7 separate regions of the Homo sapiens genome follow, and regions 2, 3, 4, 5, 6 and 7 are each linked to region 1. The links are contacts of gene promoters, found by promoter capture Hi-C in blood cells and fetal thymus (Javierre and others, 2016). All regions are on one chromosome and are shown on one strand. Each heading gives the region's core, a stretch centred on a gene start or on the middle of the fragment in contact. The rest is flanking DNA. Distances are from core to core; before and after follow the strand shown. Region 1 holds the start of NR4A3 (nuclear receptor subfamily 4 group A member 3). Region 2 overlaps COL15A1 (collagen type XV alpha 1 chain). Region 3 holds the start of TGFBR1 (transforming growth factor beta receptor 1). Region 4 overlaps TGFBR1 (transforming growth factor beta receptor 1). Region 5 overlaps TGFBR1 (transforming growth factor beta receptor 1). Region 6 has its middle 52 kb from the start of TGFBR1. Region 7 holds the start of MSANTD3-TMEFF1 (MSANTD3-TMEFF1 readthrough).

What was found. Contacts are between HindIII fragments. The CHiCAGO score rates a contact against its expected background, and 5 or more counts as called.
Region 2: a fragment that was not itself captured here is called in contact with the fragment with the promoter of NR4A3 in region 1 in 1 of 17 cell types (monocytes); the score reaches 5.9 in monocytes.
Region 3: a contact is called between the fragment with the promoter of TGFBR1 here and the fragment with the promoter of NR4A3 in region 1, in 3 of 17 cell types (fetal thymus, non-activated CD4 T cells and monocytes). The highest score is 7.9, in fetal thymus.
Region 4: a fragment that was not itself captured here is called in contact with the fragment with the promoter of NR4A3 in region 1 in 1 of 17 cell types (total CD4 T cells); the score reaches 5.4 in total CD4 T cells.
Region 5: a contact is called between a fragment that was not itself captured here and the fragment with the promoter of NR4A3 in region 1, in 1 of 17 cell types (fetal thymus). The highest score is 6.0, in fetal thymus.
Region 6: a contact is called between a fragment that was not itself captured here and the fragment with the promoter of NR4A3 in region 1, in 1 of 17 cell types (naive B cells). The highest score is 7.6, in naive B cells.
Region 7: a contact is called between the fragment with the promoter of MSANTD3-TMEFF1 here and the fragment with the promoter of NR4A3 in region 1, in 1 of 17 cell types (non-activated CD4 T cells). The highest score is 6.0, in non-activated CD4 T cells.

The regions. Positions count from the first base shown.
Region 1 is chr9:99,820,333-99,823,758 of GRCh38, reverse strand. It overlaps NR4A3 (nuclear receptor subfamily 4 group A member 3), which reads right to left and starts at 1,874. Exons shown (of 8, transcript NM_006981.4): 1 at 1,352-1,874. RefSeq lists an enhancer at 644-1,156 and a silencer at 1,731-1,780. The HindIII fragment of the contact is 5,731 bases long and covers 852-3,426 here.
Region 2 is chr9:99,038,711-99,042,136 of GRCh38, reverse strand. COL15A1 (collagen type XV alpha 1 chain) reads right to left here. Exons shown (of 42, transcript NM_001855.5): 22 at 3,404-3,426; 23 at 1,581-1,616; 24 at 30-92. Among named protein-coding and RNA genes, the nearest start is that of TGFBR1, 65 kb to the left of the region's middle. The HindIII fragment of the contact is 1,578 bases long and covers 962-2,539 here.
Region 3 is chr9:99,103,408-99,106,833 of GRCh38, reverse strand. TGFBR1 (transforming growth factor beta receptor 1) reads right to left here and starts at 1,721. Exons shown (of 9, transcript NM_004612.4): 1 at 1,532-1,721. The coding sequence starts at 1,628. RefSeq lists silencers at 994-1,503, 1,594-2,193. The HindIII fragment of the contact is 12,693 bases long and covers 1-3,426 here.
Region 4 is chr9:99,119,715-99,123,140 of GRCh38, reverse strand. The region is part of intron 1 of TGFBR1 (transforming growth factor beta receptor 1); the gene reads right to left. Among named protein-coding and RNA genes, the nearest start is that of TGFBR1, 16 kb to the right of the region's middle. The HindIII fragment of the contact is 663 bases long and covers 1,233-1,895 here.
Region 5 is chr9:99,139,238-99,142,663 of GRCh38, reverse strand. It overlaps TGFBR1 (transforming growth factor beta receptor 1), which reads right to left. Exons shown (of 9, transcript NM_004612.4): 5 at 1-128. Among named protein-coding and RNA genes, the nearest start is that of TGFBR1, 36 kb to the right of the region's middle. The HindIII fragment of the contact is 1,247 bases long and covers 627-1,873 here.
Region 6 is chr9:99,155,893-99,159,318 of GRCh38, reverse strand. No RefSeq gene overlaps it. Among named protein-coding and RNA genes, the nearest start is that of TGFBR1, 52 kb to the right of the region's middle. The HindIII fragment of the contact is 3,000 bases long and covers 84-3,083 here.
Region 7 is chr9:100,440,384-100,443,809 of GRCh38, reverse strand. It overlaps MSANTD3-TMEFF1 (MSANTD3-TMEFF1 readthrough), which reads right to left and starts at 1,904. Exons shown (of 10, transcript NM_001198812.1): 1 at 1,454-1,904. The coding sequence starts at 1,871. It overlaps MSANTD3 (Myb/SANT DNA binding domain containing 3), which reads right to left. Exons shown (of 3, transcript NM_080655.3): 2 at 1,454-1,904. The coding sequence starts at 1,871. The HindIII fragment of the contact is 4,285 bases long and covers 1-1,973 here.

The DNA.
Region 1 (3,426 bases), core at 625-3,124:
TGGATGGGTGCCGGGGGGTGGGGGGCGGAGCGGACGTGGAGGTTGCTGTGGCCTAAGGAGGCTTTGATACTAACTCTGCGAGCATCTTGTTCAGCGAAAATAACTCGAATAAAGTAACTTCATTCATTGTGCCCATCAGCCACGTTAGGCAGCTTTTTCTTTCCCTAACTTGATTCTATAAAATATTTCCCGGTCGTGGGAAAAGGAGATCCGGCACTGGACTCGCGATGGAATGACGGCTCCCTGTTCTTCTCTCCCAGCACCACAAGGCCCTGGGATCACAGCCCGACATTTCTGATTACTAACTCCTCGCAGCTCTTCCCTCTGGAGAATCCGGACGCATAAATAAATAAAAGGCAATCTCCAAGAACGTTTTTGGAAATCAAGGGACAAATGCGTTCTTCCTCACCACTGCCCCGAGGCTTCCAACAGGTTGGAGAGGTGCCTTTGGAAGTCAGTCTCCGCAGGCTGCGCTCGCATGACCGCTCTCGTCTCACCACCGAGAACTTTCATTTCTACTAAGAGTAAAACACTCGGAGCAACTTCTCCAAAAGCGCGAGTTCTGTCCGTGAAAAAGCATGCCTTTCCCACACCGAGCCAACGTCCAGAGGAGAGGGACACCGTCCCCACACGTGTCAGTGTGCGGGAGTCGCCAATTACACCCGATTTACCTCCTAAGGGAAAAGTGTAAACCGGCATGTCAGCGACGACAGGCAGACGTGCCTAGTGGAACCCCAGGCTCATTTCAATACAATAAGCCACATTCCTACAATTACGCCCTCTTTCCTGAGGTCCTCCGAGTGCGTCTGCAAACTCTGGCCGTCGCTGCCTAGGCCCTTCCCTCCTAAGCTTCCTTCCAGAGAACCAGCTCGGTGCCACCATTAGCAACATTTACTTGGACCCACCAGAGCTCCTATTTTCAATCCTACTTAAAAGGCAGGAAAATTACTGCCGTTCATCACCGGAGCTGCAACTCCCTGCCGCTGCCGCTGCCGCCGCCGCCGCCGCCGCCGAGAGCATCATTACCATGACAACTAGAGCCGAAATACCCTGAATTACATCGCTGGAGCCGCTATAGCACAAATCCCGGTCCTCCTCTTTGTTAGAGGCTTTTCGCCTCTTCGAGTGGGGGGAGGAATCCCACGAGCTCCAGAGATCCCCGCGGGCCCACTACAGGGGAAAAGTTTCAGATCAGAACCTACGGGCCGCTGGGCTAGCAAAGCCGGAGCCGGGCGGCAAGGTCAGGGGAGGGAACCCCACACTCAAAGTTGTCAATTTCAGGAGCGACGCTTCCCAGCAAGCCAACTTTTTTAGCAAGTCCCCTTATTAACTGGGCGAATCTCATACGTACTTGAGTGCTGTGGCGGTTCCGTCTTTAGAGCGAGTTTCTAGAGAGCTGTCCCGAAATCTGCACTGGGGGGGAGTCACAGCTGCTGTCCCGGAAGGGCTGCGGTGTACAAGCCCAGCGGCTCCCGGAGGCGGTGAGCGGCTGGTGGGGGATGCTGCGATCCCGACTCATGGGAGAGCACAGCCGAGAGGTTCCGCGGGCGTCCTGGCTTGGGCTGTGACCAGGGGGGAGGATGCCGCCGCTGTTCCCACCTCCACGGCCACTGCCGGCACCGTCAGCGTTGCAAAGTGAGCCCGGGAGGGGCGTCCAGCTGCGGCGCCGCGCTGCACCGGCAAGGGCTCAGGGCAAGAGGGGTGTGAGCGCGCGGGAGAGCGAAGTGTGTGTGCGGAGCCTGTGTGCGCGCTTGTGTCTGTGTGTGCGAGTGAGGGAGCGGGTGTGAGCGCGTCTGTGTATGGGGAGCGGAGGAGGAGCAGGAGCTGGAGGGGTGGGGGGCGGGAGGCAGGAGACTCCGCTCTCCCGGCTGCGCGTTCGCTCGCTCTCTCGGCACGTCATTTATGCCACAGGAGCCCTAGCGGCCTCTCCATAGAGTGCCTGGAATGCGAGACGTCAATGTGACGCCATGGGACGCTACGTCACCCTCCTCCTCCCTCCCCTGGCCCAGCCGGTTCCGCGTGTGCGAGGGAGGGTGTGTGTGTTCGTGTGCGCGCGCGCGCGCGCGCGTTCCTCGGCCAGTCGCACGGCCGCACAATGGAAACTCCGCCGCACGGCCGGCCCCGGCCTGGGGGCTTCTCTTTTTGCAGCGGAACCGCTCGCCAGGGCGTGCGTCTGCGGGAGGGTGCAGCGGCCTGCCCACGGGTCAGGCGGGACCGCCCAGCTGTCAGGCTCGGGTGGAGTAGAGTTGGAGGAGTGCTGCTGGCGCGCCTCCGAGGCTGCCCCGAGGCACGGAGCCAGGGCGAGGGGGGTAAGGGAGAGGACAGCTCTTCCGAAAGGGAAGGCTCCGCCAGCCAGCTTCTGACCAGCTCCAGTGACCTGGCAGCCGGTGCAGAAGGCGTCTGGCACCAGCCCGAAGACGCCCTGAGGTGCAGCTGCACTTTCCTCTTGCATAGGTTCTAAAGCTGTTTACGTTGCTCCGGTCCTCTGCGCCCAGGCTAATCCCCCCTCCCCGCATCATTTACTGGGTGCGTGTTTCACACAGGGATGCAGATGGTTCCGGGGATAAGGTTTGATTTCTTTACACGTACGGCGTGGGTTTCTTAACTGGACACGTTATAACCCAGCGAAGTGCACATCCATCATGCACACGCGCGCTGCAGCAGAAACTACTCTGTGTGTAAAACAAACACACACGTGTTGAACAGCTGAGCGGGTCTGACTATTGCAAATCATTCCTCCTCCCCGGCACCGGGTCAGAAATGGAACTCTCAACTAGCACTTTCACTTTTTGATGGTTGTAGATGCCCTCCGCCCACATCTCCCAAATTAAACATTTCGAAATCAATCAACAGGACTTATTAGTCAGTCCCTCGCTAGGGGATTTGCTTTGGTCTCCTCGGACACATTTGTCATGAAATGGTGTGCCGAAAGCCTGGGTGACTGTATGAAGGAGAGCAATTTCTTCCTGGAAATGATAAATTTAAGTGTAAATTTCTTGATGAAAACAAAATTTATCAGAGTTAAAGACCCCTAGTCCCAAAGGTTGCTGCTGAGTGAACGCAGTCTCTTTCAGAAATGAATTTTTGGACAGGAGAAAATATTTGAGTGAAACAATGCAGATAGAGTGGTCCCCATGTGGTCCGCTTGAATCACAAATACCGTTTTATATGTTTGACCTGTCCCAATTTGTGTGTGTGTGGCGGGGGCGGGGGGCGCTGCGCCGAGGGGAGATACAAGATTCCTTTGTAGACAGCACACATTTCAGAATCGAAGAAGGTTCGAGCTAGGACCAGAAACTTGAAAACAAACTACATATAGGTAAATATGGCATGTATATCTTTCTTCGCCTCCACTTCCAATTCAGACACGGTGGTGCGGAGAGGATCGTGGGAGAATGCCCCGAAAGTTGACCCAGCCGAGAGCAA
Region 2 (3,426 bases), core at 501-3,000, 780 kb after region 1:
TCTCACTCAGATACCTGGGCCCCTCTTACCTGTTCTCCTTTTAGTCCTGGAAAGCCAGGTAAACCAGTGTCACCTTTTGGTCCTCTAGGACCCTGGAAGGAATTGTTATATAGTATTTGGTTGTTCGTTAAGATTAAAATGCATAAACCAATCAGAAATATATTTTTTCTCAACAGTAGAATACACACTGCCATCCCCCAGGTAGGTGGAAGTCATGATTACCTATGACATTTTCTTAACCTTAAGTGGTCCAGAAACTGTGGTCTGGCAGAAAGAAGATAGCACTGAGTGTTAAGAGGCCTTGAGGCTTCACACTTTTTTGAACATTGGTTTCCTCCAACTGGGCACTACTGATCCAGCCTATTATCTGGGCCTGCTGCATCTGCTTGCCCCACGGCTCCTCCAGGCCACCCTGCAGCCCGCCTCCTCCACTATCCCCTTCCACGACTCCCACCCCTTCTCTGGCTCCCCACTACCTATGAGATGGGACCCAGGTACCTTAGCCTGGCACCCCAGCCCATCCCAGCCAGGCATCAACATCTCATCTCCCACACCATCAGGTTGACTCCCTTCCCGCAGCCTCTCTGCACTCCTCCATTGCTTCTGCACCAGCACTCATGCCACCCCCCCCATAGGAATGCCCACCCACCCCTCTGCAGAGCCAAATCCACACATGCAGCCAGAGGCAACCTCTTCTCAACTCCAACAGACACTGAATGCCTGTGACAATGACTCACACAGCCACATCTGCCTCAAAAAGGCATTTCAACACTTTATTGCTATTTTAACTTTTCACAAGTTCCTGTCTTGTCTGGATGAAAGAGTGAATTACCCATTACAGCAGTGGCTTTCAACTATTTGTTATTATTGTTTAGCAGTGAAACTCTTTTCCTTCCTTTTTTTTCCCCCAAATAAAGTCTTAAATGAAAGCCTAATATATACAAATATGTCCAGTGAAGCTTCCCTTATTGAAGGTCAGTGGCCTGGAATGTGCCTATTTGGCCCCCTCCTTACTCCCTGCAGTGGAGGTCCTGGAGGCTCTCCTGCAGAGCCTGGGACTCCCTCAGGAACACAGGACCACTCATTTAGAGGAAAGTGTGCTCTGAAATGTGCCCCAGGTCTTGGAGCAGCCAAGCCGGGGCTGGAGCTTAGGGGTTTGGCCTTTTCTTCTGCTAACCAAGAATCATGGTCAGAGTCATGGTCACAATCGTGGTCATGGTTGCCATTCTCTCTTTTGTTTTTTAACGTCTAGTTAGCACTATTTTTAGTGTTATCATATGATATGTGCCTTTAGAAAATGTAAAAAGTTCAGAAAATCAGCCAGGCTCAGGGGCTCATGCTTGTAATCCCAGCACTTTGGGAGGCTGACGCAGATGGATTTCTTGAGCTCAGGAGTTCCAGACCAGCCTGGGCAACATGGCAAAACCCCATATCTATCAAAAATATCAAGAAAAAGTTAATGAACAAGATGCCCCTGGAGCTCAGTCATGCATAGATGGAGGAAATGCCATTCTAGGTGGAAGGAACAGAATGATCGCAGCCACGGGGCACAGATAGAAGACAGCGAGGGTGGTACTTACTGGAAATCCTGGCAGCCCAGGCAACCCGTCCGGCCCCTGTGACACACCAAAGATAGAGCACGCTGGATTAGGAGCGGCATTTCCAGAGTCAGCAGGACCCCCTCCCTCCCAGCCCCTTCCAAAGGCCTCAGCATGTTCCCACAGCTGGGAAGACGGATTGACACAGCATTAGGGAAGAAGGGGCCCTGTGAGGGTCTGGATTTGCCAAGGGGAGGACAGTGACTGGAAAGAAAGCAAGGAAGAGAGAGAAGGGGTGGAGGCATGGTAATGCAGGCAGACAAGGCCCAGGGACTGTGAGGACAGGGATGCCCAATCTCTGGTTTTAGTCTCTCTGTGTTTTGCTTCAGTATCCACCCACCTAATATCAGAAACCTCCAATAGCTTGGGGAAAACAAAGACCCCTTGGGAAGAAACTTTCACTTGTTAGCTGGTTTGCTCTAGGGTTTCATTATTGAGGTATTTTGGATTATTGGTTTTCATAGAAATCAAATGGATGCAGTACAGAGGAGACAGGAAGATGGCTCACAATGAGGTCACTCAGCAGGGGAGAAACCTGGTGCCAGAAGAGTCTGCAGATATTTGCAGGAATCTTGGGGCAGCACTAGATTTTCCCCTGGATCTGGATGAATGGGATTCAGGGCAACCTCATGGGGATCTGCAGGAGAGGCAGGGACATCGGCATTGCACAGCTGTGAAGGCATAAACCTGTCTCCACAATGACTTGCACAGAGCGTCACAGTGTGCTAAGCAGTTTCACATCCCTCACTTCTTACAAGTTGCCTCAAAGGCTGGTGAGGTGTCATCAGAGAAGAGAATTAGGGGCTCAGAGTGGTGTGTGGAGAAGATGGGGCTGCAACCTCAAGGCTCCTAAGGCCAGAGCTCCTTCCTTTCTCCTGTGCTGACCAGCAGATGCTGGGAGATGCAATGAGTATTTATTCTACAGGCTGTAGGAGGAAGCTTCCTTCATCTTAGGGCCATTGTGCCATGAGTCAACTCTGCCAACTTGCAGAAATAATGTATATTTTGGTTTTTTTTGTTTGTTTGTTTTGAGATAGAGTCTCACTTTGTCACCCAGCCTGGGGTGCAGTAGTGCGATCTTGGCTCACTGCAACCTCCGCCTCCCAGGTTCAAGTGATTCTCGTGCCTCAGCCTCCCAAGTAGCTAGGATTACAGGCACATGCCACCATGCCCAGCTAATTTTTGTATTTTTAGTAGAGACAGGGTTTCAACATGTTGGCCAGGCTGGTCTCAAACTCCTGATCTCATGATCTGCCTGCCTCAGCCTCCCAAAGTGTTGGGATTACAGGCGTGAGCCACCACTTCTGGCCAAAAATAATGTGTATTTCTTATATACATTATAATCCCATTTTAGAGATCTGGAAATTAACACACAGATAATTTCCAGAGTTCTAAAATGGGGCTATAAAGACTAGAATGAGTCCATTTCTTCCTCGTTTCCCTTGAGCACAAGGAAAGGTGTCTCCAGGCTCTTCCTATACTATGAAATAAGATAATGTAAATAAAAGCAGGCCAAAAGTGTGCAACAGATGTCATCTGTTTGTTACTTAGCATTCTCTAATTTCCATGACACATATTGCCGGTGCACAGGACTGGAAGCTTCCACTGCTTTGGAGACAACTTTCCACATGATCAAATTAATGTGAAAGCAACTTTTCAAAAAATGCAAAGCTTTCTTTCCATTCTACTTTGATATATTCTAGCTCTACGCTTCAGGAGCTAAAAGGATTCCAAAGTAACCCGACTTTGTTTCAACAGGGGCGTCTGGGTAAAAGCCACATTCTGGGGCAGCTGTAGATACCAACCGGAGGCCCCACCAGCTCAGGAA
Region 3 (3,426 bases), core at 472-2,971, 720 kb after region 1:
AAGCCTATCTGATACTCAAATCATGAGGACAGAATCCAAAGTGGATAATAAAGACCAATTGCTCATCAGACGACTGAAGAAGAAAAATGGGCTACGCCAGATAGTATGATGTATACATATTTATATATATATATGACATACAGGTTTGGGAAACTGAGATCTGAGTGAAAATCCTAGCTTTAGCACTTAAGTTATTGGGTACTTAACGTGTCTGTACCCCACTTTGCACATCTGTAAAGTGGGGCAAATGCCACTACTCCTGGGAGTTTACTTGTGGTGATTAAATAATGTAATTATACAATAGTGTATGCATTTACATCGTAGTAATGCACAATACATAGACGGTAGCTATTAGGACTGATTATAATCGTCACCGTCAGTCTTGATTTTTTAAAAAAATTTCAACATCTTTTGTCCAGTTTCAGAAACAGAAATGTACTTTCACTGCATTTTAGTTGCTAACACTGAGGCTGTGTATTTTAGCTTCTAGTGTCTCAGTTCAGCTGCTAACGAAGTTTTTCACTCATCCCTTTGTGGATACCAACCACCTACCCCAACCTGATTTACTATTTTGAAAAATCCAGCCAACAGTCTTCCTTGAAAACCAGCTATACAGATGTCTGAATCAAACTATTAACTGTCACTCAAGAAAAGGAACAACGTGAGTGATGTTCCTTCGAGGAAATAAAAAGCGTTTAATCAATTCACAGTCGTTCCCAAAATTTCCAAAACCCGCAGAATGAGCAAACGTTCAAGTTTCCACTATGAAAACAATCCGTAGCCGTCTGGTTACTGGACTCACTTCAACACTCCCCAGACGCACGAAAGAAGAAACATTCCGCGCATCTCCGCGCTTCCTTCTTCTCACACAAAGCCCCCCTGGCTGGAGGAGCAGCCCCTTCCAGCAGGGTCGGCTCGGGTCGAGCCGGGCGGGAGTCAGGGCGGCCTGCGGACCCAGGGGTCTCACCACACGTCGCCCCCGACTCCCACTGGACGAAGCCCTAGAGGCTCGGAGCTCACACCCCGCCCGGGAGCCGCCTTCCACCCCAACCTCAAACCCCGCCCCGGGTTCGGCAGCCTCTGGCACGGACCCTCTTGGGGCGGGGGTCCCCAGAACAAGGTCACGCCGTGCCCAGGGGGCGGCGGCGGGCAGCCACGGCTCTGCCAGTCCCCGCCGGCCTCGCACTCTCCGCCCCTGGCCCTCGCCCACTCACACCCCAGAGGGCAGCCCCGGACCTCGGACGACTCCGCCCGACTCCACCTCCCCGGGGAGTCCCGAGCGGGGCGGCCTCGGGCAGCCGGACACGTCCGCCCGCGCCCGGACACACGCCCCTGCCCCGCCTCCGCTCCCCGCTTGCGGTTCGCCCGGCAGCCGCCGAGCCGCGCGGCGCCACGAGAGCCCGGCCCGGGCCCCGGCGCCGCCACCTGCGCCCCCGGCCCCGCGCCATGTTTGAGAAAGAGCAGGAGCGAGCCAGAGGCCGGGTCCGGCCCGCGCGCCCCGCAGTCGCCCGCCCGCCGCGCCGCCGCTCACCCGTCGCCCCCGGGAGCAGCGCCGCCGCCGCCGCCGCCGCCGCCGCCAGCACGAGGAGGAGCAGCCGGGGACGCGGAGCAGCGACCGCCGCCTCCATGGTCCCGCCGCCACCGCCTGTGGCCCGGCCCGGCCCGGCCGCGCCGCTGCCTCACCCCAGCAAACCTCGCCTCGCCCCACCTCCCTAGCCGCCGCGGCGGCCTCGCTCCGGCCCTTTGTAACTGCTCGGAGGACGCGCGTCCATTGGCTGCCGGGCTCCCGCCGGCCCCGCCTCCCCGCCGCCGCGAGCTGCCAAGCGGGACCCAGCCGGGAGCCCCGCCTGCGGGCCCGCCAGGCAGCCAATCCGCAGCCGCGAGCGCCGGTTTCTGGCCACGCCCCACGCTCCCCGGGGGCTGGGCCGCCAGACCCCAGCCCCGGCCCGATCGGCTCCCGGCTCCGAGAGGCCGCGTGGGGGCGGGGTCTGCCAGCCCCAGCACCGCTCAGCCGCTAGCCCCGGAGGGCCGGGTAGAGCGATGGGTGTGTCTGTGTGAGTCTCTTTCGGAAAAAGGCTGTGGCCGTTCGACGCTCTTTTCTTCTAACCTCCTCTAGGCGCGGAAGATCTGGTACTGCCTCAGCCCCACCCTGACCCCATTCACAGCTCCGCATTGGCAATCCCAGCACATGCCACCCAGATCCGCTGCAGCGCCAGGCCCCTGCATCCACTTCAACTTCCCCTCTCCAAGTCCACGCATCAACTTCAGCATTCCCCCGAAGATCCCTCCTCAGTGCCCTTCACATGCGACTCACTCTCCTATTTCCTCCTGCTCCCAGCGGTCACCCCAAACCCAGCTCCCCCACCCAGTTCCAAACCCAGAAAGTCCTCAGATCCCAGCGTCAGACCCAGATCCTGAGCCCAAACACACCCCCAAATAGCCTCCCGCCTCCCTCCAGCACAGATCCAGGATGGGGATCCAAGCCGCACTCCTCTCAAACCCCTTCCCGATCCAGGTTGGAAAGGGAGGATCCCCACCCCAACCCCTCAAAGGAGGGGTTCCCCCTTCTTAGCACCCAGCTCCCGCGGGGCGGAGGGGGAGCAGTCATCATTACTTTGAGCTGTGTCTGACACTGCTGTATAATAATCCTGAGGTGTCACTAAAAACCCAAATAAACTCTACGTTTTCATTCTGAATTCCTAATTTACTGCGAGACGCTCCACCCACCTTCCCTCTGCGACGCCAAAATGAGCTCCAGATTTGTAATTCTTCCTGTCAGACTAGTCCTTTCTTCAGACACAAACACAGCCAAGGAGGCTGTTACGTAGAACAGAGAATATTTTTCCGCAGAACCTTTTAAGGAGGAAATTTTATTTTCTGTGTCATTTGAGCTTAGAATTAAATAAACCTTGATAGCAGGAATCAGAATGGTTCTGATTAATGCCAATTTGTGCACTACTTTAGAGTCACTGGGTGAGCATTTTCCCCACCTGTGAAGGCTTCCTTCCGGGAGATGAAAAGGGAAAAGGCGTGGATATTGGAGCTGGGATCTGAGACCCGCGCGCTTTCTCCCTCCTGTCTAGGACACTTACTTAAGCAAGTCAGCTAACCTTTCTGAACCTCCAACAGGCTCAGAGGCCTGCAACTTGCTCTACACCGCAGCTCCAGCAGCCTCAGCAGCAAACTCCCCTCTTGCTCAGGCTGAGGGATTCCAGAGAGATGGCTTCTGGCAGGCTCCAGTCCCAATTTGCCCTCTCAGTTCCAGTTTCTTCAATGGAGATTTGGTGGACTTTGTGCCACCTGAGGTCCCTAGACTGCCTTTTTGCTGCTCTATTTGCAATGTCTTTCATAAGATAAGAGCTAATGAGATTTTTATTGTATGAATGAATGAATGATCTCAGAAAGTGACTGTTTTTCTCTGGCCAT
Region 4 (3,426 bases), core at 315-2,814, 700 kb after region 1:
GCTCAGGACCAGAAGTGTTTTGGATTTGGGATTTTTTTCAGATTTTGGAATATTTGCATATACATAATGAGACATCTTGGGAATGGGACCCAAGTCTAAGTATAAAATTCATTCATGTTTCATATATGCTTTATATATATAGTCTGAAGGTAATTTAATATAATATTTGAAATAATTTTGAGCATGAAACAAAGGTCATGTTAAGTACTTATGTGCAGAATTTTCCACTTGTGGCATCATGTTGGTGTGCTCAAAAGGTTTTGAATTTCAGATTGGGATGTTTGACTTGTATTCACTTCACCATCACTGTAATTATTTGTCTTGATAGCTCCCTTGCAACTATAACTTAGGTTAAACAAGGATTTCAGTGTGATTCAGCACTAAAAGGAAAAGCTACTGTGTACACAGAAAATTATATCAGAACCATGCCAGGAAATACAATTACTAGCAGTGAAATTTCCAAATATTGCAGAATAAATCAGAATTTTCAAAGTTTGCAGATGTTAGCATGGTGACAGTTAGTACCAAAGGAAGTGACATGAGGAAAAAGAGACAACAGGACCCTTGGGGTTATTATTCATGGTATTATAGTATCGGGGTAACAACTCTCGGGGTAACATATCCCAAGTTGAGATCTTGGCTCTTGGTCCCAATATAAAGGATTTCCTTGGTTGCCTCATTTCAGTACGTCTCGAGGTCACATATGGAAGCACTATTAATTCTATCTAATGCCAGGGCTACCCAGGGTTAATTCACAAGCCCATATGTCTTGCTAGAAAAGCTGAGAGGTAAACAGTTGTGTATAGTATTAATATATGGAACAGATATTTCTATCACCCTTGTTAAAGAAATAAAAATTAGCACCGAAACCTTGTCTTCCCAGGCTTAGTGTGTCATCATCTACACAACCTACCCGTAGTCTTTTTATGCATACGCTTGAATACTCTTTCCTTTTTCAACCCTTGTTACTGGCCCTCTCCAGCCTTCTATCACCCATCTTCCTCCAGTTCAGAGCTCAACTGAAATCTCTCTTTGAAATTCACTAGCAATGCCCTTCTGGTCAAATTCAATATTCTTTTCAAAACGTTTCAGGATATGAGACAGAGTACCACCCTTTCTTTATTAGTTTTTATATGACACTAAACTTCCCAAACTTACTTTGCACTTGGCCCTTTGGTACATCTCAGATGTACATCTCCAAGCCTCTTGGCCTTTTACCTGTGCTCCAAGCTTGTATTTTAACTACATCCAGGAAACACTCTGCTTGGCTTACTTATCTATGCAAAGTCAAGCAGAGTGTTGTAATCCAGTTTTTTCATCACTCTGACTTTGCTGGTGATGACCCTTATTTTCCTCACCCTACCCACTACAGCACAACTATACTTTTCTTCGCAGTGAGAGTATTTCCAAATATTACAAACATGTACCAACAGGCAAGTAAAAGACCTAACATGCACAATGTCCTTTATGCAGTTTGCTTCACTACAGCTGAAAGCAGATCACATCACTGCTGGCAAAGGTGAAGGCAAAAGTTGGAAGTTATTTAAAAAAAACTTTCAGGGACTAATGTCAGCCCCTTTTATCATCCAACCTATTCTTCTACCCCAGTTCTTCTGAGTAATCTGCCTTACCCCTTTTCTCCATTCTCAACACATGCCCCCTTCTCAAGGAGACGTGTCCTCTTTTCTCCCTCATCCAGCTTTGGAGTAAAGCATACTATATAGATTCTCCTTTTCTTTTTATTAAATATGTTGCTTATCTCTGTATACATGGCTAAAACCCTGACCTCCAATTCCCTCCAGCCTACTATCCTAGGTTTTGTTCCTCAAAATACTCAGTTCTTCTCAATTCAACCCTCCTGGGGCTACCTTGCAGCAGTAATATCAAAGTAAGCTTGTCAAAATAGAGAACACCATATAATGTACATAAAATTTTCCTCTAGTCCAGATAATATTTCACCCCTGAATTTAGGGCATCAGAATAAACGCCTGATTTTTTTCCAGATAAATTCCATTTACTTCTGCCACTTTTAAAGAATTTAAGATGCATTGTTTATCATTTAACCCACATCACATCTTAAAAGAACAGGGCACTCCCAAATTCACAAGCTCTTGTTTTTCCACATTATCTTCATTTTCCAGTCTCCTAGTTTCTATGGAATTAGCCAATATAATGTTAACTGATATCAGAGAAAACACACTAAGAATAGGCTGCCCAAATGGCAAGATGGGATTTAACAGGGTAACTAATACAAAGGCTTTCACTTAGATTCGAAATAAATCACACAAGTACAGCATAAAGATCTGGTTAGCAGATCTGAGGAGTTTAACAACACATTTTAGAAGAGTCAGAGCCTTTAAAAAGTATCTTTTAATCCATCAATTCTACTACTTACAGTTGTCTGAGGAAACAATAGGTGAGAGCAAAAATCTAAACTTGCAGATGTTCATTACAGTATTTTATGATTGAAAACAACCTATGTGAATGACAATACAATGACAGAATGAATCCTTATACAATCATAAATGAAAGACTATATAGCCATTAAAACTGGTATTTTAGAAGCATGTTTAAGGACAAGGGAATGGTCCTACTACTAAAGGGCAGGAAGTAAAGCTGTATAGTGTGATTACAATTACAGTCCTGTCAAGTGACCTTGTTTTTGTTCCACTTCAATGAGTTGAGGGGATATTTTAATATACAGAGCAGATGTGCACACTTTGCCTTACCCCAGGCCCTGAAAAGAAATGGAGAAACTTCTATGTCTAAAGGTGAGTGCTAAAACAATAACCAAATTTCTTATTTCCTCTCAATCTAAGTATGCTTTTACACAGTTTCTTATTAGATTTTAATTTGACTAGTGGGTAGGTATTATAAGGATATGGTAGTTAAGTTGATGGAACTCAGAGACAGAAAAACTTAAGTTAAAATCCTATCTTTGCCAGTCAGGCACTGAGTAATCCTGAGGAAGTCACTTAACTTATTTGAACCTAAATTTCTTCAACTTACTTCCTAAATTTATAACATACTAACAAACAGTACCAATCTCAGAAGGTTTGAGGGTTAATGAAATAACATACATAGAATACTTAGCACAGTGCCCAGCACATAATAAAATGTTCAAAAATTAGTTTATGCACTTTTTCAACAAGTATTTCTTTGGAGCTCCTATTACGTGCCAGTCTCTGGTCTAGATGCTAGACAGAGAATCAGAGCTAATGTTGAGACAGCTCTGGTAGGCAATACTGACACAGAACACAATATAAACCATATGCATATACAACAGTGAATGTTCATGGTACCTATCAGCTCTTTCTCCTTCATAAATATTCATACAGTTTTTCAACAATATGACTGAACAGACCTGGCTCAAGAACTTCACTACAGTAGCAGTAGGCACACACAGAAAGTATATTTTCAGTTCCA
Region 5 (3,426 bases), core at 1-2,500, 680 kb after region 1:
GCTCGCCGTGGACAGAGCAAGTTTTATCATTCCTTCCACAGTAACTGTGTATCTGTTTAAGTAATCAAAAAGGGATCCATGCTCATGATAATCTGACACCAACCAGAGCTGAGTCCAAGTACCATTGTCTGTAAAACAGAATTAACATTTCGGTTGGGCTGCAGACCATTTATGATTTATTTGTTCAATGGTTATTACTTTTTACTCTCAATCCTGAGTCACACACTGCAATATAATGCCACCTTAAGTCTGTATTTCCTTCACATTTTCTTCTACATTGTTTGTTTTATACTTTTATGTACACATCCTTTAGTTCCTCAGAGTAAGCCCCTCTTCTTGAGATAAGGCAAGTATAATTAATCCCATTTAAGAGACAAAGATGGTGACTTTTTTGAGTCTTCACAGATAATTGGTATCAGAGCTGGCACTCTTAAGTGCCTAGAAAAATCTCTGGGTCGGGTTGGGTGCTCAGTGGCTGTTCCTGGAAGGAGAGAAGGTTAAAAAAAAGGAAGGAACAGAGAGGGAAGCAAGGAGGTGAGAAGTCTCCGGAGACCAGTGTGGCCACAGTGGGAATGGAAGAGTATGGGACAAAACTGAAAGTGAGTTTCAACAAGAAATGACAAGCTTTAGTGACAGATTGTGTACACAGTTCACAAAGACGCAAGACAAGATGATTATGATTCCAAGGTTGCTAGCTTAGAAAAACAGAAATAGTGATACCTCTAACACATGGGGAAGCTGAAATAGGAACTGAAATGTCAGGAGCAAAACTGGAAAAGCTGGGACTAAACTCAAACAACGAGGAACGTGGGTTCCAAAATTTCCTCTGTAAGCCAAAACACGAGTTTAAAACATGTTTTCTCATAGGAATAATGGTAAAGACACTAGCTAGGCTCCTAAGCTAGACTGGTCCACGACAATCTAATTTAACCTAGAAGTAGCTGGAAAACCACATGCTTAATTAAGCCATGAAGAAAAAAAGCATTACAACATTAGGAGACAGCACAATCCAGTAAAAGATGGACGCTTAGAGTCATTCTAACCTGGTTGGAATCCACGGCCTGCCTGTTACTGACAAGGAGCCTGTTTCTCCTTTTATACAAGAATAAAGTCTTACTTTGTAAGACTGTTAAGATTTAAAAAACGGAATGCTAGATTCTTTAGGTAAGAAGTACATAAACTGTGCTCTTTCTTTCCCTGCTGGTTGTAAACCAAAAGAAAAAATCCATATTGACATGAAACAGCTTCTATTTTGAAGGTATTTGGTTGAAGAAGAAAACCAACTCTGATTAGAAGAGATTAAGAAAGGAATAGAAACTTTTCAGAAGATTCTGGAGGAGATTTCTGGGTACATTTAAAAGGACTTAGTATTAATTTGTTCTTCATGAACTTTATAAACTGATTCTGACCAAACTCGCACCCTTGCTTTTCCTTGATATAGGCACATCACTAGCTTATTTGCATGCCTCTTAACCATTACTGAATTTTGAAAAGCTCACAAATACAAGAAACAAAGTGGAAGACAGGCAGATGGAAGAAAGGGAAACCACAGGTTATGGACAAGATAGAAGGAAGGTTATATGTAAGGGGCCATAAATATAAAGGGCTGCCGGGGGTGGAATTAACTAAATCAGGAGAAGATAAAGGAACTGAGGTGGAGGGGCTAGGCTCAGAGAAAGTACATTAACCCCTGACAAAGAAGAAAGAAGGGGAGTAGGGAAGAGCCAGTAGGGTCAGCTAGTTCCCATGGTGACCACCAGATGACAGCATCAGCCTGGTTAGAAGTTCAGGGCACAGACTCACCAACATTTTGTGCTGCTGTGTTTGTAACTTGGAATGTGACAAAATCCAGACCCTGGGTGAGGTTTAAGCTTTCAAATGGAGATTTGAGAGTTGCCAACATGGTAGAGTTTGAAACCATGAATGTGGCTATGTTCTTAAGGAAGAAATTACCACTTATAAAATCAGTACCTTCATATGAACCAGTGAGAAGAGTAAGAGTTGAGAAAACAAAGACAACTATGAAGAAGTAAGAAGGAACAAGGAAAGTCTAGGGTCATCAAACACAGTAAATAAAGAAAAGGTTGTTTTAAGAGTTGGGGGAGGAAATAAATGGTGATAAAGGCAGAAACGAAAATGAGAACTAAGGATTTGGTCAGACTGATTACTATTTTTTGTTTTGTTTTGTTTTGTTGTTGTTTTTTTTTTGAGACAGAGTCTCCCTGTGTCGCCCAGGCTGGAGTGCAGTGGTGCGATCTCAGCTCTGACTGCAACCTCCACCTCCCAGGTTCAAGCAATTCTCTGCCTTAGCTTCCCAAGTAGCTGGGATTATAGGCACCTGCCATCATGCCTGGCTAATTTTTTTGTATTTTTAGTAGAGATGGGGTTTCATCATCTTGGCCAGCCAGGCTGGTCTTGAACTCTTGACCTCGTGATCCACCCACCTTGGCTTCCCAAAGTGCTGGGATTACAGGCGTGAGCCACTGTGCCCGGCCTGTTTTGTTTTTAACTTAAGAGGTATTACATTGTCAGGTGCCACTGATAATCGCTACCTACATTCATCATATACCTCACTGCCCCGTCTTAATCAAACACTATACACCTCCACATATGATGCAATAGGATGTATATAATATCCTTAGTATGTATTTTGAGAAAACCAATAAAACTCCAATTAGGTTTAGCTTCTAAATCTAACTACCAGTTTTCAGAAAAGATAGAAGAACAAGTTAAGAGACACTATGGAAATGCAATCAGCAAAATCCAGAATGTGATAGGCCCTTCAGGATAAACAATCCAATTTCTTCAACAAATAAGCTGCGAGAGGAGAAAAAAGATGAAGGGGGGACCTAAATTTTAAGACACATAAGAGAAATATCAACTAAATATAACTTGTGGACTTAGAATCATAATTTGAATAAATAATTTTTTTAATAGGAGACAATTATAGAATTGAACCTAACTGGATATTTGATAACATTTAAAAAACTGACAATGGTAGTGTGGTTGTTTCATAAAAACATTTCCTCATCATTTGAAGATACAAATTACATTTTATAAGTGTTTACAGATGAAAACATATTGTCTGGGACCAGCTTCAAATAACACAGTTAGGGCAGAGTAGGTGGGATCAGACATCAATTATGATTGGCAGTGACCTGACAACTGTTGAAGCTGGACGATGAGGGATCACTGTAACTACTCTGCTTTTCTACATATTGGAAATTTTCTACAAATAAAAGTCAATAACAAAAAAAAGCAGTACATGCTTGTAAATAAATTTGAAAACCCAGAGAAGCTAAAAGAAAAATAATAAAAATCACCCATAATTACCAACTGAGGTTAAACACTGTTAATATTTGAATAAATAAATATTGCTGAAGTAAATGGAAGGTGGGAGAAGGAAAAAGATGACTACAGGTCTGG
Region 6 (3,426 bases), core at 334-2,833, 660 kb after region 1:
TACACACCATAAAATTTCCCCATTTCATGTGCACAATGTTTAGTAAATTTACGGAGTTCTGAATCCATCACCAAAATCAAGCTTTGAAACATTCTGTCACCAGTAGAAGGTCGTAACTGCAAGTTGTCCAGATTCCTGGCGTTTTGAACAGAGTTGAACAAAACGCCCAGCAAAGCAAAGAAAGAATGAAGCAACAAAAGAAGGAAAGCAGGGATGTATTGAAAACAAAAGTACACTCCACAGTGTGGGAGCAGCCTGAGCAGCTACTCAAGAGCCCCCAATACAGAATCTTCTTTGGTCCAAATACCCCCCAGAAGTTTCCCATTGGCCACTTCATGCATACTTCATGTAAATGAAGTGGTAGCCCTCAATCAGTCTGATTGGTTGCAGAAAGCAGCCAACCAGAGGCTGAAGTTACAAAGGTCACACTCCTGTGCAAACATCTGATTGGTAAAGGCAACCAATCAGAGGCTACGGTGAAGTTACAAAGTTATACTTCTGTGCAAATGAAGACTGACTAAGCCTGCAATCAGTCTGGTTGATTGTGGACGGCAACCATTCAGAGGCTGGAGCTAAGTCACAAAGTTGCAAACGAAGACTCCACTGGTACTCAGTCTGATTTGTTGCAGACAGATTTCCCATCTGCAGCCTCTGGTCCTTTTTTTACTTAGGCGTGGAAAGTTAGGGTTTTCCTTTCAATTTAGTTCTAGGAAGTCAGGGTGAAAGAGCCTTAGGTTCCCTGCCTCCAGACCCTATTCTCCTGCCTCAATTCCCATCATCCGAAAAAGCTCCCTTGTGCCTTTCTGCAACCTTTTCATCCCACTTCCTTCACTTAGCATGAGGGTTTTGAGGTCATCCACATTATAACAAGGATCAAGCAGTCTTATAAACCATGGTATAAATACCTTACCTCTTAAATATCAATTCACCAGATGATGGACATTTAGCTTGTTTCCATTTTTGACTATTAGGAATTATGCTGCTGTGAATATTCACCTACAGGTCTTTGTGTGGACATATGTTTTAATTTTTCTTGGATTAGAGTTGCCAGATTTAGCAAGTTAAAATACAGGAAGCCGAGTTAAATTTAAATGTCAGATAAACAATACTTTTTTTTAGTATAAACATGTTCCATGCAATATGTGGGACAAACTTATACTAAAAAATTGTTTTTATCTGACACACAAATTTAACTGAGCCTCCTGTATTTTATCTGGCACCTCTACTGATACCTAGAAATGATATTACTGGGTTACATAATAGGTTTCTATTTAACCTCTTAAGATACTGCAATCTGTTTTCCAAAGGGACTGTTTACATTCCAGCAATGTGTGAGATTCATCTTTTTCTCATCTTTATTGACACTTGGCTATCTGTCTTTTTAAAAACTATAATCATTTGAGTGTGTGAGGAGTGGTTTCTCATTGTGGTTTTAATTTCATCTAGTCTTTATAAAGAATTATGTTTATTAGCCATTCATATATCTTCTTGGGAAAATGTCAAATCTTTTGACCAGTTTTTATTTTTACTTTTTTTGTCACAGTCCTACACATAATTCATGGTATTTAGAGCTTCACTTTATCAACTGTTGCCGAATTACCATTTAAACATTAATACCCAAATACAGAATTTAGAATTAACTCTACCATACCCAATCTCTGAGCAATGAATTTGTTCACCAATTTTTAATTGGGCCATTTGTATTCTTATTGAATTGTAAGAGTTCTTTATATATTCTGAATACAAATCTCTTATCAGATGTATGATTTGCAAATACTTTATGCCAGTCTTTGGCTCATCTTTTCATTCTCTTGTTTTTTAAAGCCCCAAATATTTTAATTGTGGTGAAGTCCAATTTATCAACTGGTTTTTAATAAATTTTGCTTTTGAAGTCCTATTAAAATCTTTGCCTAACCTAACATCACAAAGATTTTCTCCTGTTTTCTTCTAGAAGTTGTATAGCTTTAGCTCTTACCTTTAGGTGCATAATGAGCTGAGGGTCTAATTAACTTTCTTCCTTTTTTCCTTCCTTTTAAAATACAGATATCCAATTGTCTCAGCACCATTTATTGAAATGACTGTCTTTTCTCCTGTTGAATTATCTTTGCACATATCTTGAAAGTCCGTTGGTCGTCTGTGAGGGCTTATTTCTGGACTCTTAATTCTGTCCTGTTGCTGTATATGACTGACTATCCTTGTGTCAATAAACAGTCTTGATTATTGTTGCTTTACAGTAAGTTTTGAAACTGGGTAAGGCAATTCCTCCAATTTTGTGCATTTCAAAATCATTTAGGATCTTTTAGACATTTTGCATTTCCATGTTAAGTTTTAGGATCAGCTTGTGAATTTAAAGAAAAACCTTTCTGGAATATCGCTAGGGATTGAGTTGAATCTATAGAACAATTTGGGGAGAATTGCCATCATAACACTGTTGAATTCTCTAATCCATGAGCATGGAAGTTCTCATTTAGATCCTTTGATTTCTCTCGGCAATATTTTTTCAATTAAATAAATGTATTATTATATTCTTTTTGACGCTATTCTGAGTTTACTTTTGAAGGTATCGTTCATTGCTAATATAATGTCAATTTTTAATATTGATTGTGTATCCTACAACCTTGCTTGCTGAATTAGGTCTTGTAGCTTCAAAAAAAAAATTTTTTCCGGTGGATTCTTTAGAATCTGACAGGTAATATTTCTTAATAAAGACAGTTTTACTTTTTTCCCCAACCTAATGTCTTTCTAGTCTTTTTGTAGGGAGAGGGAACAGGGACTGGACAGAACCTCCATGACAACATTGAATAGAAATGATGAAAGGATGTTCTCGACTTGTTTCTGATTTAAGGAGAAAAGTATTCTTTCACCATCAAGTATGTTGGCTGTGAGTTTTTTATCGATGCCCTTCACTAGGTTGAGGAAGTTGCCTTCTATTTCTAGTTTGCTGAGTTTTCATCACGAATGGGTGCTGAATTCTGTCAAATATTCTTTCCTTTGGCTATTTAGTTATTATAATAATATGGGTTTTATTGTTTCTTCTATTAGTATGGTATAATACATTGATTTTTTTGATGTTAAATGAAGCTTACAGTCCTAGGATATGGCCCATTTGGTCCTGGTGTATAAATCCTTTTATCTGTTGTTGGATTCAGTTTCCTAATATTGTGTTTTAAGTATTTTTGCAGCTATCCCCACTGGCTTTAATACTTCTAAAGTATAGGTATTTAAAAGTGTAAATTTCCCTTTAAACAGTGCATTAGCTGTACACTATAAATTTTGACATGCTGTACTTTTTCATTTGTTTAAAATTTTCTAACTTCCTTTGTGACTTCTTCAATACATGGGTTTTTTAGAAATGTGTGATTCAATTTCCGAATATTTTGGGATTTGCAATTTTCTGTTGACTTCTAATTTCAACATGGTTGGAGA
Region 7 (3,426 bases), core at 655-3,154, 620 kb before region 1:
TATATAAACTGGCCACTTCCTGTCTGAAAAGAAGCAGGAATTTCTGGAAATTTATCTATGTGCATTTCCACCCTCCCCTTGCCTAGAGACATTTCAATAGCCCCTAAATTCCAACCTTTTGAAGCTATGACACACTATCATTGCATCCTTCATTATATGACAGTGTTTTTTTCCCCAAGAATTATGTATGACATATTTTTCTCTTTTTAATGGAAGTATATTAAACTTAAAGTTAATTTCTTTTGGAGCTTTTCAAGATCCCTGGGGTGCCACAAACCAAAACTGTGGATCACAATAGTATAATGGCAAAAAATGCTGGTTTTTAATCTGGGTGAATGCTAAAACAGGCGTTTATCATATTATTCTTTGCACTTTTTTTAAAGTTTGAAATAGTTCTTTTTTTTTTTTTTGAGATGGAGTTTTGCTCTTGTTGCCTACGCTGGCGTGCAGTGGTGCTATCTTGGCTCACCACAACCTCTGCCTCCCGAATTCAAGCGATTCTCCTGCCTCAGCCTCCCAAGTAGCTGGGATTACAGGCATGCACCACCACGCCCGGCTAATTTTGTATTTTTAGTAGAGACGGGGTTTCTCCATGTTGGTCAGGCTGGTCTCAAACTCCCAACCTCGGGTGATCCGCCCACCTCAGCCTCCCAAAGTGCTGGGATTACAGGCATGAGCCACAGAACCCAGCCGGTTGACTCTTTTAATATGGCCTTTTGAGTGGCCTACTGCAATGCTTTGCAAATAATAAGGACCTCCAAAAATATTTTTTGAAAAAAGTGAAATTGAGTGGATGAATACAAATCTTCATACAATTCTCTTTAACATATTTGAGACAGGCTGATAGGCAACTGCAGCACCTCACTAATAAGAACTCCATTAATCCAGTCCCTTATTTTTCTTTATGTTTAAGTAATAATAAAGTCTCCAAGAGAGCTAGCACAATGATGTAAACAAGTACTTTTGTTTTTATATATTACTTTTTTTTTTTTTTTTTTTTTGAGACAGGGTCTCACTCCGTCACCCAGGCTGGAGTGCAGTGGCGCAATAACAGCTCACTGCAGCTTCCACCTCCTGGGCTCAAGTTATCCTCCAGCCTCAGCCTCCCGAGTAGCTGGAACTACAGGTGCATGCTACCATGCCCAGCTAATTTTTTCTATTTTTTGTAGAAACAGGGGTCTCACTTTGTTGCCCAGGGTGGTCTCAAATTCCTGAGCTCAAGCCATCCTCCCGCCTCAGCATCCCAAAGTGCTGGGATTACAGGCACGAGCCACCACGCCCACTTCTATAAGACTTTGAATGTCCTATATAATCCTGAGATCTTGAATTAGGAAAATTGGATTTGATACAAAAGTTTCATTTTTAGAAGTTCCCTCAAAGTGGAGGGTTTTAAAATTAAAATGTCAAACAGATACCCAGTGAGAGCGTGCACACTGGCATCAGGAACGGATACCTTGGGCTGAGGCGTCGGGGTGGTATTCGGGCTCCTCCTCCGGGGGGCTCTGCAGGAAGTAGAGCTGCTCCGGCAGCATGCTGGCGATCTTCTCCTTCCCTAGGACGTGGGTACTCAGGAGAGGGCTGACGCTCCGTTTCACTTTCTCTCTCCTTTCATGGGCCATAATTTTTTTGGTCCGAGCCTTGATGTTCTCCCAGCACTTCTTCAGCTGTTTGAAATCCCGCAGGGACACGCTGGGCTGAGAGTTGTATTCGTGGGCCAGCGCCTGCCAGGTACGCTGCTTAAGGGCAATAGTTCGCGCATCACTTTTCTTACATTCCAGCACATATTTATACTTTTCTACTAAAGCCAGCAGGATGCTCTTTTCCAATTCTGAGAAGTATTTGGCAGGCTTTATAATTTCGTTGTTTTGCATTTTCCACTGTATTTCTCCTGGCCGCTAGCTATCCTGTAAAAGGAAGTTTGAAGCAATGATTACCAACTCCAGCAAAAACAATGCCTATAAATCACTGAAGCTTAATTCCTGACTTGATTCCCTTGTCTGAAATACAGTACTTTCTTTTCCATTAAGGTTGAATTATGATATTCAGGACTCTGGAGAATATTTAGAAATGTACTAGGAATGGGGTTTTATTTCAAAGTGGATTGTTGTGGCTATACTGTGACTATCTGGTATATAACAGCAAAAAAAGAAAAGTTGAACATTTTTTTTTTGAAACGGAGTCTCGCTCTTGTCACCCAGGCTGGAGTGCAGTGGCACGACCTGAGCTCACTGCAACCTCCACCTCCCGGGTTCAGGCAATTCTCCTGCCTCAGCCTCCTGAGTAGCTGGGATTACAGGTGCCTGTCACCACGCCCGGCTAATTTTTTTTTTGTAGTTTTGGTAGAGACAGGGTTTCACCATGTTGGGCAGGCTGGTCTCGAACTACTGACCTCAAGTGATCTGCCTGCCTCGGCCTCCCAAAGTGCTGGGATTACAGGCGTGAGCCACCACGCCCGGCCTAGACTCTGATTTGTTAATTGATTTTTCTTTAATATTAGGGAACTGATTATTCCCCCAAATCATGTTAGCCAGTTTTAGAACTAAACAGCTTTCCAAAACTTTTGTCACAGCTGAGGACAAAAGAAGCCACCGTGTACTCAAATATAAAATATGATGTGGGAGGCTGAGGCAGGCGGACCACGAGGTCAGGAGTTCCAGACCAGCCTGACCAGCATGGTGAAACCCCATCTCTACTAAAAATACAAAAATTAGCTGGGCGTGGTGGCGTGCGCCTGTAATCCCAGCTAGTCAGGAGGCTGAGGCAGGAGAACTACTTGAACCCGGGAGGTGGAGGTTGCAGTGAGCCAAGATCGTGCCACTGCAATCCAGCCTGGGTGACAGAGTGAGACTCCATCTCAAAAAAAAAAAAAAAAAAAAAAGATGTACAGCCGGGCACAGTGGCTCACACCTGTAATCCCAGCACTTTGGGAGGCTGAGGTAGGTAAATTGCTTGAGCCCAGGAGTTCGAGACTAGCATGGGCAACAAGGCAAAACCCTGTCTCTAAAAAAAAAAAAAAAAAAAAAAAAAAAGGGAAGAAAAAGAAGAAAAAAAAATAGCCAGGTGTGGTGGCATGCACCTGTAATCCCAGCTACTTGGGAGGCTGAGGTAGGAGGACTGCTTGAGCCCAGGAGGTCGAGGCTACAGTGAGCCATGTTTGCACCACCGCACTCCAGCCTGGATGACAAAGGAGACACTGTCTCAAAAAAAAAAAAAAAAAAATTTGACGTTTTCATCACTCTGTGGCATGTACCTGGAGCAATGGCAACCTCAGTTTTTTCATCTTTAAAATGAGGGGTTGGAGTCTGTGATCCTTCAGGTATGCGGGCTGTTTTTTAAAATCCTAAGTAAACAATGTATGTAATTTCAGATGTGAAAGGGCCTAGGCACTTAAGAGACTGAGTCCAGTGTCCCTCTTTACATTCCTCA